Regions from separate parts of the Homo sapiens genome. Here all the other regions are linked to region 1. Evidence: promoter capture Hi-C in human tissues and cell types (Jung and others, 2019). All regions are on one chromosome and are shown on one strand. Each heading gives the region's core, a stretch centred on a gene start or on the middle of the fragment in contact. The rest is flanking DNA. Distances are from core to core; before and after follow the strand shown. Region 1 holds the start of HNRNPAB (heterogeneous nuclear ribonucleoprotein A/B). Region 2 holds the start of LOC128966623 (a long non-coding RNA gene). Region 3 holds the start of KIAA1191.

Region 1 (3,626 bases), core at 746-3,245:
GCAGGAGAATCGCTAGAACCTGGGAGGTGGAGGTTGCTGTGAGCTGAGATGGCTCCACTGTACTCCAGCCTGGGCGACAGAGCGAGACCCCCGTCTCAAAGAAAAAAAAAACCTGGTGATCTAGCTGGGCAACATAGGGAGACCCTGTGTTTACAAAAAATTCGCTTGGCGTGGTGGCCACGTTTCTGGTTCCAGCTACTTGGGAGGCTGAGGCAGGAGGCTCATTTGAGCCCGGGAGGTTGAAGCTGCAGTAAGCCGTGATCGTGCCACTGGACTCCAGCCTGGGTTACAGAACAAAACCTTGTGTCAAAAAATAAAATAAATAAAATTGGTGACCATACCACCTTACTTTGGTTGTTAAGATACAGAAGAGAAAATGGAATGCCCAGCCCACCACACTGGTCCTGGCTGCAGGAATCCACTGGAAACGCTAGTTCCTTGTGTTCTGGGTTGCTATTTGGTAACCTGCAGGCTCCAGAGGTTGTAATCCTGCTTGCCTTGGGGCCCACCACCCATATGATTAAAAGGAATAACGGGATTACCGAGGCCTTTAAAATTTTGTGGTCAAGGAGATAATATAAAGGAGTTTTGTGTATTAGGAAGAGAACAACGCCCCCACCCTGTCCTTTACCTCGTGAGTTCACGAGTGGTGTATTTGTTTTGTTTTGTTTTTGAGACGATGTCTCGCTCTGTCGCCCAGGCTGGAGTGCAGTGGCGAGATCTCGGCTCACTGCAAGCTCCGCCTCCCGGGTTCACGCCATTCTCCTGCCTCAGCCTCCCGGTAACTGGGACTACAGGCGCCCACCACCACGCCCGGCTAATTTTTTTGTATTTTTAGTAGAGACGGGGTTTCACCATGTTCGCCAGGATGGTCTCGATCTCCTGACCTCGTGATCCGCCCGCCTGGACCTCCCAAAGTGCTGGGAGTACAGGCGGGAGCCACCGCGCCCGGCCTCCGTATTTGTTTAAAAAAAAAAAAAAAAAAAAAAAGGCCGGGCGCGGTGGCTCACGCCTGTAATCCCAGTACTTTGGGAGGCCCAGGCGGGCGGATCACGAGGTCAGGAGATCGAGACCATCCTGGCCAACATGGTGAAACCCCGTCTCTACTAAAAAAACAAAAAAATTAGCCGGGCGTGGTGGCGCATGCCTGTAATCCCAGCTACTCGGGAGGCTGAGACAGGAGAATCGCTTGAACCCGGGAGGCGGAGGTTGCGGTGAGCCGAGATCGCGCCATTGCACTCCAGTCTGGGCGACAAGAGCAAGACTCCATCAAAAAAAAAAAAATAATAAAAAGGAAGAAAAAGAAAGACAAATGATTTACAGGAAAAAATTTAAGTAAACAAAAGTACAAATGCGATGTCAATCGTTCAGGTGGTGCCAGGGGACAGAGAACCGGGGAACACCAAGGTCTCATCGTCCCTGCAGAGCATCTCTGGGGGAGGCGACGGACAGGGCGCGAGCGCGGGGCTTGGAGGGCACCAAGGTCCAGGGGGATGGCGGGTTCAGTCCCAATCCCTCCGACCCGTGCTGAGGGCCTTGGAGGACCCCACTCGCCCAACCTCGGAAGCCCGGGTTCTGCCACTTCCAGCCACGCGTCCTTGGGCTGCGAAACTTTCTCCAGCCCAGTTTCCTCTTTTGGGACATGGGGAGGCGGAGGCTGCCAATGCTGGGATGGAGTCCTCGAGAGCAAGAGACCAGCGGCCTCGACGAGCTTACAATCCGATTAGGCCCTCCCACCGATGTGCTGTAGCTGCCCGCCGCCCTGGACCCGGCGCCGTCCCGCCCGGCTTCGGGAGCCCTCCGTAGCGGCCGGACTCGCGCGCGTTCTAAAATGAGGACAAAGCCCGCCCAGGTCTAGAGCGCGCGCGCCGTGGCGGCCAATGGGACGCTGAAGCTAGGTTGAGTGACGGACTTGAGCAGCCAATGAGTGTGCAGTTTGTTGCGATGTGGCACCCGGCTCCGGCATTATAAAGGGCGCCACGAGTCGGCATTGTCAGGCGGCGGCACCGCGCGGGACGGAGCTTGGCTGTTGGTCGGTGGGTTCCCGTGCGGCGGCGGCCAAGGAGGAGGAGACACAGTTGGAGCAGCTCCGTGGGCTGACTGGGGCGAGGCCTCAGCAGCGCGAGCTTGAGTGCGGCCGAGCCTGCGGCGCCTTCCCCTGCGGGTGGGGACGAGCGGGCCCCGCGGCGTCATCGGCGGCGAGGTGAGCGGCGGCCGGCGGGCGGGAGCTCTGGCGGGAGCCGCGCCGGCCTGACGCGCTGTCGCCGCTGGTTGCAGGAGCCGCCGCGCCTCGGCCTAGCATGTCGGAAGCGGGCGAGGAGCAGCCCATGGAGACGACGGGCGCCACCGAGAACGGACATGAGGCCGTCCCCGAAGGCGAGTCGCCGGCCGGGGCTGGCACGGGCGCCGCGGCGGGGGCTGGAGGCGCGACCGCGGCGCCCCCGAGCGGGAATCAGAACGGCGCCGAGGGCGACCAGATCAACGCCAGCAAGAACGAGGAGGACGCGGGGTAGGTGCGGCCGCGGGCGGACGGGGGCGCCGCCTTTGTTCCGGGGCCGCCTTTTGTTGGCGCCACGCGGCGGGGGGAGGGGCGGCGGCCTGGCCCGGGTCGGGGCTGGTGCGGCCCGCGGACTGTCGCCGCTGCGTTCGCGGGCCGGGCCTGGCGCTGCCACTCGCGCTGGAGTTTGCGGGAGTTTGTTGGGTCGACTTTGGCGCCGCCCCGGGGCCGCTCGCGCGCTGCCAGGGCCAGGGCCAGGGCCGGAGCCGGCGCAGGGGCGGGCGGATGGCCCGGAAGAGGGAAAGCGCTCGGACCCGGGGCCCGGCGGCGTCTTGGGCCGCGCCGGCGGCTGCGTGGGCGGAGTTGGCGCGAGCCGGGGCCCGGACCTCCCTCCTCCGCCTCTCCCGGGGGCGGAGTCACGGTCTGAACCCTGGGCGGGCTTGGTCCCCGGAAACATCGAGTTCCTTGAAACGAGTTCTCAGGAGTTGGTGGAGACGCTGGCCCTTTGCTACATGGTTGTAGAACACATGAATTTCCAGTTATGAGTGGTTAGGTCCCATACCCCTGGTGAGGTGGTCCCTTCTTTGCTTCTCACAGGCTGGGGCTGCAGAGCCTTGTTAAGCCTCGTTAGGGTCCTGGTTGAGTTCAATTTGGAGGGTAGTGGAGATTTAACATCTTTCTAAGGTGCTCCTTGCAGACTCTAAGGGTAGCTGTAGACTTCGTGAGAACTTTGCCAGGGCCAGTCCTTTCCAAAATCACAGCTTGCTTACAAGACTTGTTGCCGTGTGTCTCACCCTACCATTTCAGAAAAATGTTCGTTGGTGGCCTGAGCTGGGATACTAGCAAAAAAGATTTAAAAGACTATTTTACTAAATTTGGAGAGGTCGTTGACTGTACAATAAAAATGGATCCCAACACTGGACGGTCAAGAGGGTTTGGGTTTATCCTGTTCAAAGATGCAGCCAGTGTGGAGAAGGTAAGCTGGGTACTGGATTTCAGCAGTCTCAGTGGAAACGATTTGAATTCTAAGAGGACACCTTTCTTAAAGCATGACTAGTTTGTGTGGTCTGCATGTGATTTAAGTGCTTTGGGCAAAACCCAAAGCCGGAGGTTATGTTCCGGTTTTTGA
Region 2 (3,528 bases), core at 667-3,166, 1.3 Mb after region 1:
GGAGAGCGGAGGAGAGAGTGCTGTTCTAGGGTGTCATTAGGTGGCTGTCAGATCCCTGCTCCTACATTCAGTAGGGAGTGACCTTCGGAAAATTATGTAGCCTCCCTAAGTCTCAGTTTTCTCACCTGAAAAATGGAGCTGATGGTAATAATCCTCATCCAGGAGAACAGCATGTGTTGACCATCCTCGTGGCATTCTTTTTAAGAGCTGCACGGCACTCCATTGTATGGGCATTAAATCATTTATTTATTGTGTGCAATCTCGGCTCACTGCAACCTCTGCCTCCCAGGTTCAAGCGATTCTCCAGCCTCAGCCCCCTGAGTAGCTGGGATGACAGGTGACCACCACCATGCCTGGCTAAATTTTGTATTTTTAGTAGAGATGGGGTTTCACCATGTTGGCCAGGCTGGTCTTGAACTCCTGACTTCTGGTGATCTGCCCACCTCAGTCTCCCAAAGTGCTTGGATTACAGGCCTGAGCCACCACTCCCGGCCCATAGACCTAAATATAAAACACATTTGTTGAACACCATGAAACCAGCAGCTTTGCTGTCACCACCAGAGGGACTCACATGATTTGGAGAATTTTCAAATAGGGATATTGATGCAAACAAACAGGAAGGACCAGTAGCTCTGCTCTTCTCCTCAGAGACCAGAACCTGCCCAAACCACCCAGCATCACTGACAGATGACGGTTCCTGAGCTCATGCGAAGAGAAGACACAGCGAGGGGAGATGCCTGTGGAAAGCAGATGGCCTGAGCTGTGTGTGCACGCCCTAGTCCACGGGTAGATCCATCAGCAACAGTGGAAGCCTCACCGACTCAAGGTGTTCGTGTACAAATTCAGACAACTGTTGGCAGAATACCAAGCACGCAGATAAAGGAGCGGTTCCTGGGAAGCCATGCATAAGAAACAAACAAAAAATGAGCAGAGACGGCTCCGGATACACGCTGCTCACAGAATTTACAAATTTAGTACAGGCTGGTTACAAACAAACGAACAAACAGTAACAACTCTCAGCGGAAAAGATTCAGAATCCAGAGTTGAAGAGTCTATAACCTAAAGTATCCAGTGTTCAATGATAAGTTACAAGACAAAAAGAAACAGGCAAGTGTGGGGGAAAACTGTCTTTGTGTCCCCAGATGTCACACTTAGCAAACAAAGACTTCAAAGCAGTTACTTATGTTAAAAGAACTTAAAAAGGGCCAGGCACGGTGGCTCAATCCTGTAATCCCAGCACTTTGGGAGGCCGAGGCGAGCAAATCACCTGAGGTTACAGGTGCATGCCTGTAATCCCAGCTACTTAGGAGACTGAGGCAGGAGAATCGCTTGAACCTGGGAGGCAGAGGTTGCAGTGAGCCGAGATCACGCCATTGCACTCCAGCCTGGGCAACAAGAGCGAAACTCTGTCTCAAACAAAAAAGAAAAAGAAAAATGACTTATGAAACGTCAAGCACAACATATGTAGAATGAGAGTCTCAGAAAGAAAGAAAAGGGGAAAGAAAGAATTATTTATAGAAATAATGGCTGAAAACTTACCAAATTTGATATAAAACATTAATCTATAGAATCAATGTTTACTTTCAGTAAAATAAATACCAATATATCCACTCCTACACACCTTGTGTCAAGCTACGAAAACACAAAGAGCAAATATTGAAAACAGTAAGACAAAAACTTCTCCTCATGTACAAGAGCACCACGATAAAATTAGCCACTGATTTCTGATCAGAAACAATGGTGAGACCATGAACGGCAGCTCACGCCTGTAATCCCAGCACTTTGAGAGGCCAAGGCAGGTGGAATACCTGAGGTCAGGAGTTCGAGACCAGCTTGGCCAACATGGTGAAACCCCATCTCTACTAAAAATACAAAAATTAGACCAGGCGCGGTGGCTCCCGCCTGTAATCCCAGAGCTTTGGGAGGCCGAGGTGGGTAGATCACGAGGTCAGGAGATCAAGACCATCCTGGCTAACACAGTGAAATGCCATCTCTACTAAAAATACAAAAGATTAGCCAGGCGTGGTCGCAGGCGCCTGTAGTCCCACCTACTTGGGAGGCTGAGGCAGGAGAATGGCATGAACCCGGGAGGTGGAGGTTGCAGTGAGCCAAGATCTCGCCACTGCACTCCAGCCTGGGCGACGGAGTGAGACTCCATCTCAAAAAAAGAGAAAAAAAAAGAAAAAATTAGCTAGGCATGTTGGTGCACACCTGTAATCCCAGCTACTTGAAGGCTAAGGCCAGAGAATCGCTTGAACCTGGGAGGCAGAGTTTGCAGTGGGCTGAGATCACACCACTGCACTCCAGCCTGGGCAACAAACAGAGGGAGATTCTGTCTCAAAAAGAAAGAAAGAGAGAGAGAGAGAGAGAAATAGAAAGAAAGAAAGAAAGAAAGAAAGAAAGAAAGAAAGAAAGAGAGAGAGAGAGAGAGAGAGAGAGAGAGAAAGAAAGAAAGAAAGAAAGAAAGAAAGAAAGAAAGAAAGAAAGAAAAAGAATGAATGAATGAATGATGGGAAGGCAATGGGATGGCATAGTCAAAGAATGAAAGAAAAAAAATTGTCAACTAAAAATGCCATGTCCAGCAAATCTATCTTTTAAAAATAAAGATATTCCCAGATAAAGACAGAAAATTTGCTGCCAGCCATCCTACCTCATAAGAAACACTAAAAGAAAGCTTCTGAACTGAAAGAAAGGCTTGATTCTTCTATTTGAAAATACTGAATTGATTTGTCACAGGGTATGTGTGTATATGTGTGTGTGTGTATGTGTGTGTGTGTATGCCAAATATTCCAAAATTTCTCATGCACTTTAACTTTTATTGATTTTAGAAGCAAAAATATTGCAAATATATAAAAATATTCTTTGAAGGTTTAGTTCAATTTTATACTTTTTTAGTCCTATGAATTTTAATAATAAAGAATTGATTTAATTTTTGATTAAGTCTAGCTGAAGACAGTAAAGATTAATTGAAGCAAAAATTATAAAAATTTATTCAAAACTCACAATGATAAACAAGTATAAAAATGTAAGCTCTATGTCTGAGTTGAAGCAAGGCAAGAACATATTGTGTGGGGAGGTTAGAATTGCAGGCAGAGGAGACCCTGGAGCAATAATCCCTGGAAATAACAGGAATTTCGGGGACAAATCCAGATCCTCAAAAACTGTGAAACTGAGGGAGTCTGAGCAGAGTTCTCCAATGAACCAGGTATCATCTGTGTGCCAGGGTGAGAGGACGGAAAACGGGCCAGGTCTGTCTCTGACAGGTTGAGAAGGTGGAGTGGGAAGGAGGGATCCGGAAGGCCAGGAGGGTGGAGGGAACTGCAGGGGTGGGTGGTGGTGGGCGGGGCTGGGCTTTAGCCTCCTCCTCCCACTGCCCACCCCACCCTTAGGAGCCCTTTGTGAGGGGGAGGCCCCAGCTCTGTGATGTGGACCTGGGCCCCAGTAACTTGTCCCAGAGGGGATGCCCAGGGCTCAGCTGCCTGAGGACAGCAGTGCAGTTGACATGGATATTCTCTTTCCTCTGCACAG
Region 3 (3,618 bases), core at 223-2,722, 1.8 Mb before region 1:
GACTACAGGCGTCTGCCACCACGCCTGGCTAATTTTTTGTATTTTTAGTAGAGATGGGGTTTCACCGCACTAGCCAGGATGGTCTTGATCTCCTGACCTTGCGATCCGCCCACCTCGGCCTCCCAAAGTGCTAGGATTACAAGCGTGAGCCACCGCGCCCGACCCCAGTTTTTTTTTTAAGCTATCTCTTACAGAAAGGCTATCCCAAATTTAAAGAGAAGGAAACTGGCCGGGTGCGGTGGCTCACGCCTGTAATCCCAGCATTTTGCGAGACCCAGGCGGGCAGATCACTTGAGGTCAGGAGTTCGAGACTAGCCTGGCCAACATGGTGAAACCCCATCTCTACTAAAAATACAAAAATTAGCCGGGCATGGTGGCGGGCGCCTGTAATCCCAGCTACTCGGGAGGCTGAGGCAGGAGAATAGCTTGAACCCGGGAGGCGGAGGTTGCAGTGAGCCGAGATCGAGCCACTGTACTCCAGCCTGGGCGACGGAGTGAGACTCGGTCTCAAAAATAAAAATTAAAAAAATTAAAAAAATGTTAAAAATAATAATAAAGAGAAGGAAACTAAAAATCAGAGGAGTTAAGTAAATTTGTCCACGGTCACAGATAAGTGGTCCGTGCGCAAGGTAGGTAGTTTCATGCCCAGTTTACAGGGGAGTTAAAACGAGGGCCTGAGAAAGTTACTCTTGTTTTTCAGCTTGCTACACCGTCCCTCTATCCCGATAGGACTCAGACAGAGCAAACAAGTTATTGATAGTTCTTCACTAACGAGCATCGCAAAGGCCGAATTCAGCCATCCTCCCAGTCCAGGGAGCATTCCCGCCCCAGACACGTCCCCTTCCCCTTTCCCTTTCCCTGTGCCCCCACCCCCCAGCTCACCGTCCCTCTGCCTCTCCTTCACAATATACAAGACGGTGCCGCCAGGATACGAAAGGCCGGCTGCTTCACCCACCCCTCCAGGCTAAGATTAGGGCCAGGACCCTAGCCGAAGGCGGGGTGTGGGGAGATGAGGTTGAGGACAAGCCGCGGGGGCTCGGGCTGGGCTGGTCCCACGAAGCGGAGGGGAAGCCCGTACGGGAGCTGCAGGGCATTCCCGGAGAGAAGCCCCATTACGGAGACCCCAGAGAGCGGAGCCAGGGAGGCAAGAGGCGACCCAGCCGAGCTCGAAGCCGGGATGAAGGGTTAAGAGGTGCGGGGAGAGGGGAGTGGCTTGGAGGGGCCCCGAGATCGGGCCTCGCCGGAAGCGCCCCTCCTGATCGCCAGAGAACGCAGCCCCAAGGGAGGGCCCAGGCCCGCCATCTGTTCACCTGTGATCCTGCTGCCGCGGGACTGCCTGCGGCCCGGAGTCCGGCACTAAAAAGGTTCCGAGGGCCCACGTCTCCCGAGAGGCTGTGGCGCAGTCTGGACCCAAGCCATTGTGAGAGCGGCGGCGATTTCGAAGGTCCCCAAGACCCACTAGGTAGCAGTACCACCCAGCGGGCAGGCAGCACTGCAGATAAAGCCTCCGGAGACCGCGGGATCTCGCGCGAGACTTGGCCCAGCGGAGCACAGGGCATGCTGGGAGTTGTTGTCCACGATCGCGAGACCCGCCCCCTCCCCATGCCCTTCGCCGCCCAGCGAGTTGTGGAGCCGCAGCTCCGAGTGTGGAATCCGCCAGCCCCGAGAGGAAACGCCACACTTCACCACCACTTCCTCAGCGCGTGTGCTGTGCCTGGGTCCGTGACAAGCTAAGGGAAGACGGAGGTAGCATAGTAAAATGACACCCACAAACCCAAGCCCTCAAGGCTCAAAAAGGGCTGCCAAGTGCGAGCACTTGTCATCCTGTTTTTCCCACTTCACGGAGGTGAAGCTGAGACTGGGAGAGATGAGAAGTCACTTCGATTAGCAAGCGGTGCAGTGAGCACGGACTGTCTCCCAAAACAGCGGGGTTAGGCAGGGTTCGTACTAGTAGCTGAACCAAAAAAGGGAACCGACCTCACCTGCCTCCCCTAGGGAAGGCGATCCTAATATCATTTCTCTTTTACATAAAGGAGAGTGAGGCTTAGAGGCGCCAGCTGAGGTGTCAGTCACATCCTGAAGGAAGACTTCTCTTATCCCTGAAGGGTTCACAAAGAAGGCGAAGCAACGAAGTTACAGCAGAATTTGCAAAAATCTATCCACGTTTCTACCCCAGTCCAAAGCTCGCCATCAAAACTCATCTCAGGAGAGCTATGATTGGTGGTGCAGGGTGAATGTCACATTTAGATTTCAGCATTTGAGGCTTCCAGCCGTACTGGCAGAACTGAGAGGCCTTGCTCATGCGACTTGAAACTTAAGCGCTGTTTCCAGACCAGGGTGCTTGAGTGCACTAAGAATTAAAGTCTTTGATGAATTCTATAATTAGCTTATCAACAGCACAATTACATTGCAGTATAATTGTGTGTATATGTGTGCGTGCGTGTGTGTGTTAAAGGTGTTCCTTTGTTAATTTGGAGCTTTTAAAATATGCCATATTTTTTAACCTCTGTGGAAGCAAAGCTGGCACCTTGCTCTTTATCCACCACAGGAAGGGATGTATATCACCTCTCAGTCAGAAAAGGAAGAAATAGCACTTTGCACCCTTATGTAGATCATAAGGTGGGATCATCTCATTTATTTCTTAGCCACAAATACATGAAAACTTAAGACTTTCCTGGAAGTTACTATTTGATTAAAACAACTTTTTCTGGCTGGGCACGGTGGTTCAGGCCTGTAATCCCAACACTTTCAGAGGCTGAGGCGTTCGAGACCATCCTGGCCAACACGGCGAAACCCCGTCTCTACTAAAATACAAAAATCAGCCAGGCGTAGTGACAGGTGCCTGTAATCCCAGCTATTCTGGAGACTGAGGCAGGAGAATCTCTTGAACCTGGGAGACGGAGGCTGCAGTCTGCCTTGTCCTAGGTACCCCCAGTGACTGCCAAGGCTTCCACGTGTGTAGCACGAGGAGGAAGAACAGGAGAAACGACCTGAGTACAGCAGTCGGGTTCTTTTGGCTCTCCAGAGGGGTGACGCCATGTACGGCTGGCTGTAGGGTACATGGGTTGAGAGACCGCCTGTGGCTCTCAGGGCCCAGCAGGGCTACCTCTTTCCCTTTATATTGTCTCAACTCTTCACCTCCTTTTAGTTCGCGATTCCTCTGTACCCCTGGCTCTGGGTCCCAGCCCCTATTCCTTCTGATTTGTCCCCCTTTCCCTTTGACTACATATATATGCTCCTCTCCTCCCAGATAGTGATGTTTTAGCTACATCTTATTTCTTCCGGCATTGATTCTTTTGAAAAATTTATTTCTGGCTGGGTGTGGTGGCTCATGCCTGTAATCCCAGCACTTTGGGAGGCCTGAGATCACACTACTGCACTCCAGCCTGGGCTACAGAGTGAGACTCCATCTCAAAAAAAAAAAAAACTTTATCCCTGATATTTGTGGTACCAATGTCTGAAGCTGTCATGGTCTTGGTGCATAGCACCTATGTGAGAGCACCTATTTCTTTTCCACAAATAATAGACTGTAAACATTTTTTTTTTTTTTTTTTTTGAGACAAGGTCTCGCTCTGTTGCCCAGGCTGGAATGCAGTGGCGCAATCTCGGCTCACAGTA

The links. Contacts are between HindIII fragments. The study calls those that stand out against the background at their distance.
Region 2: a fragment that was not itself captured here is called in contact with the fragment with the promoter of HNRNPAB in region 1 in 1 of the 25 tissues and cell types used here (lymphoblastoid cells).
Region 3: the fragment with the promoter of KIAA1191 here is called in contact with the fragment with the promoter of HNRNPAB in region 1 in 1 of the 25 tissues and cell types used here (spleen).

Annotation. Positions count from the first base shown.
Region 1 is chr5:178,202,538-178,206,163 of GRCh38, forward strand. HNRNPAB (heterogeneous nuclear ribonucleoprotein A/B) reads left to right here and starts at 1,996. Exons shown (of 8, transcript NM_031266.3): 1 at 1,996-2,203; 2 at 2,278-2,509; 3 at 3,305-3,473. The coding sequence starts at 2,301. RefSeq lists silencers at 1,810-1,879, 2,180-2,399, 2,420-2,529, 2,560-2,969. The HindIII fragment of the contact is 21,768 bases long and covers 1-3,626 here.
Region 2 is chr5:179,519,023-179,522,550 of GRCh38, forward strand. It overlaps LOC128966623 (a long non-coding RNA gene), which reads left to right and starts at 3,435. Exons shown (of 5, transcript NR_185480.1): 1 at 3,435-3,528. It overlaps LOC100289470 (chromosome 5 open reading frame 60-like), which reads left to right and starts at 3,474. Exons shown (of 4, transcript NR_171571.1): 1 at 3,474-3,528. RefSeq lists an enhancer at 1-82. The HindIII fragment of the contact is 4,239 bases long and covers 1-3,528 here.
Region 3 is chr5:176,360,292-176,363,909 of GRCh38, forward strand. KIAA1191 reads right to left here and starts at 1,473. Exons shown (of 9, transcript NM_020444.5): 1 at 1,311-1,473. RefSeq lists an enhancer at 1,229-1,548. The HindIII fragment of the contact is 20,486 bases long and covers 1-3,618 here.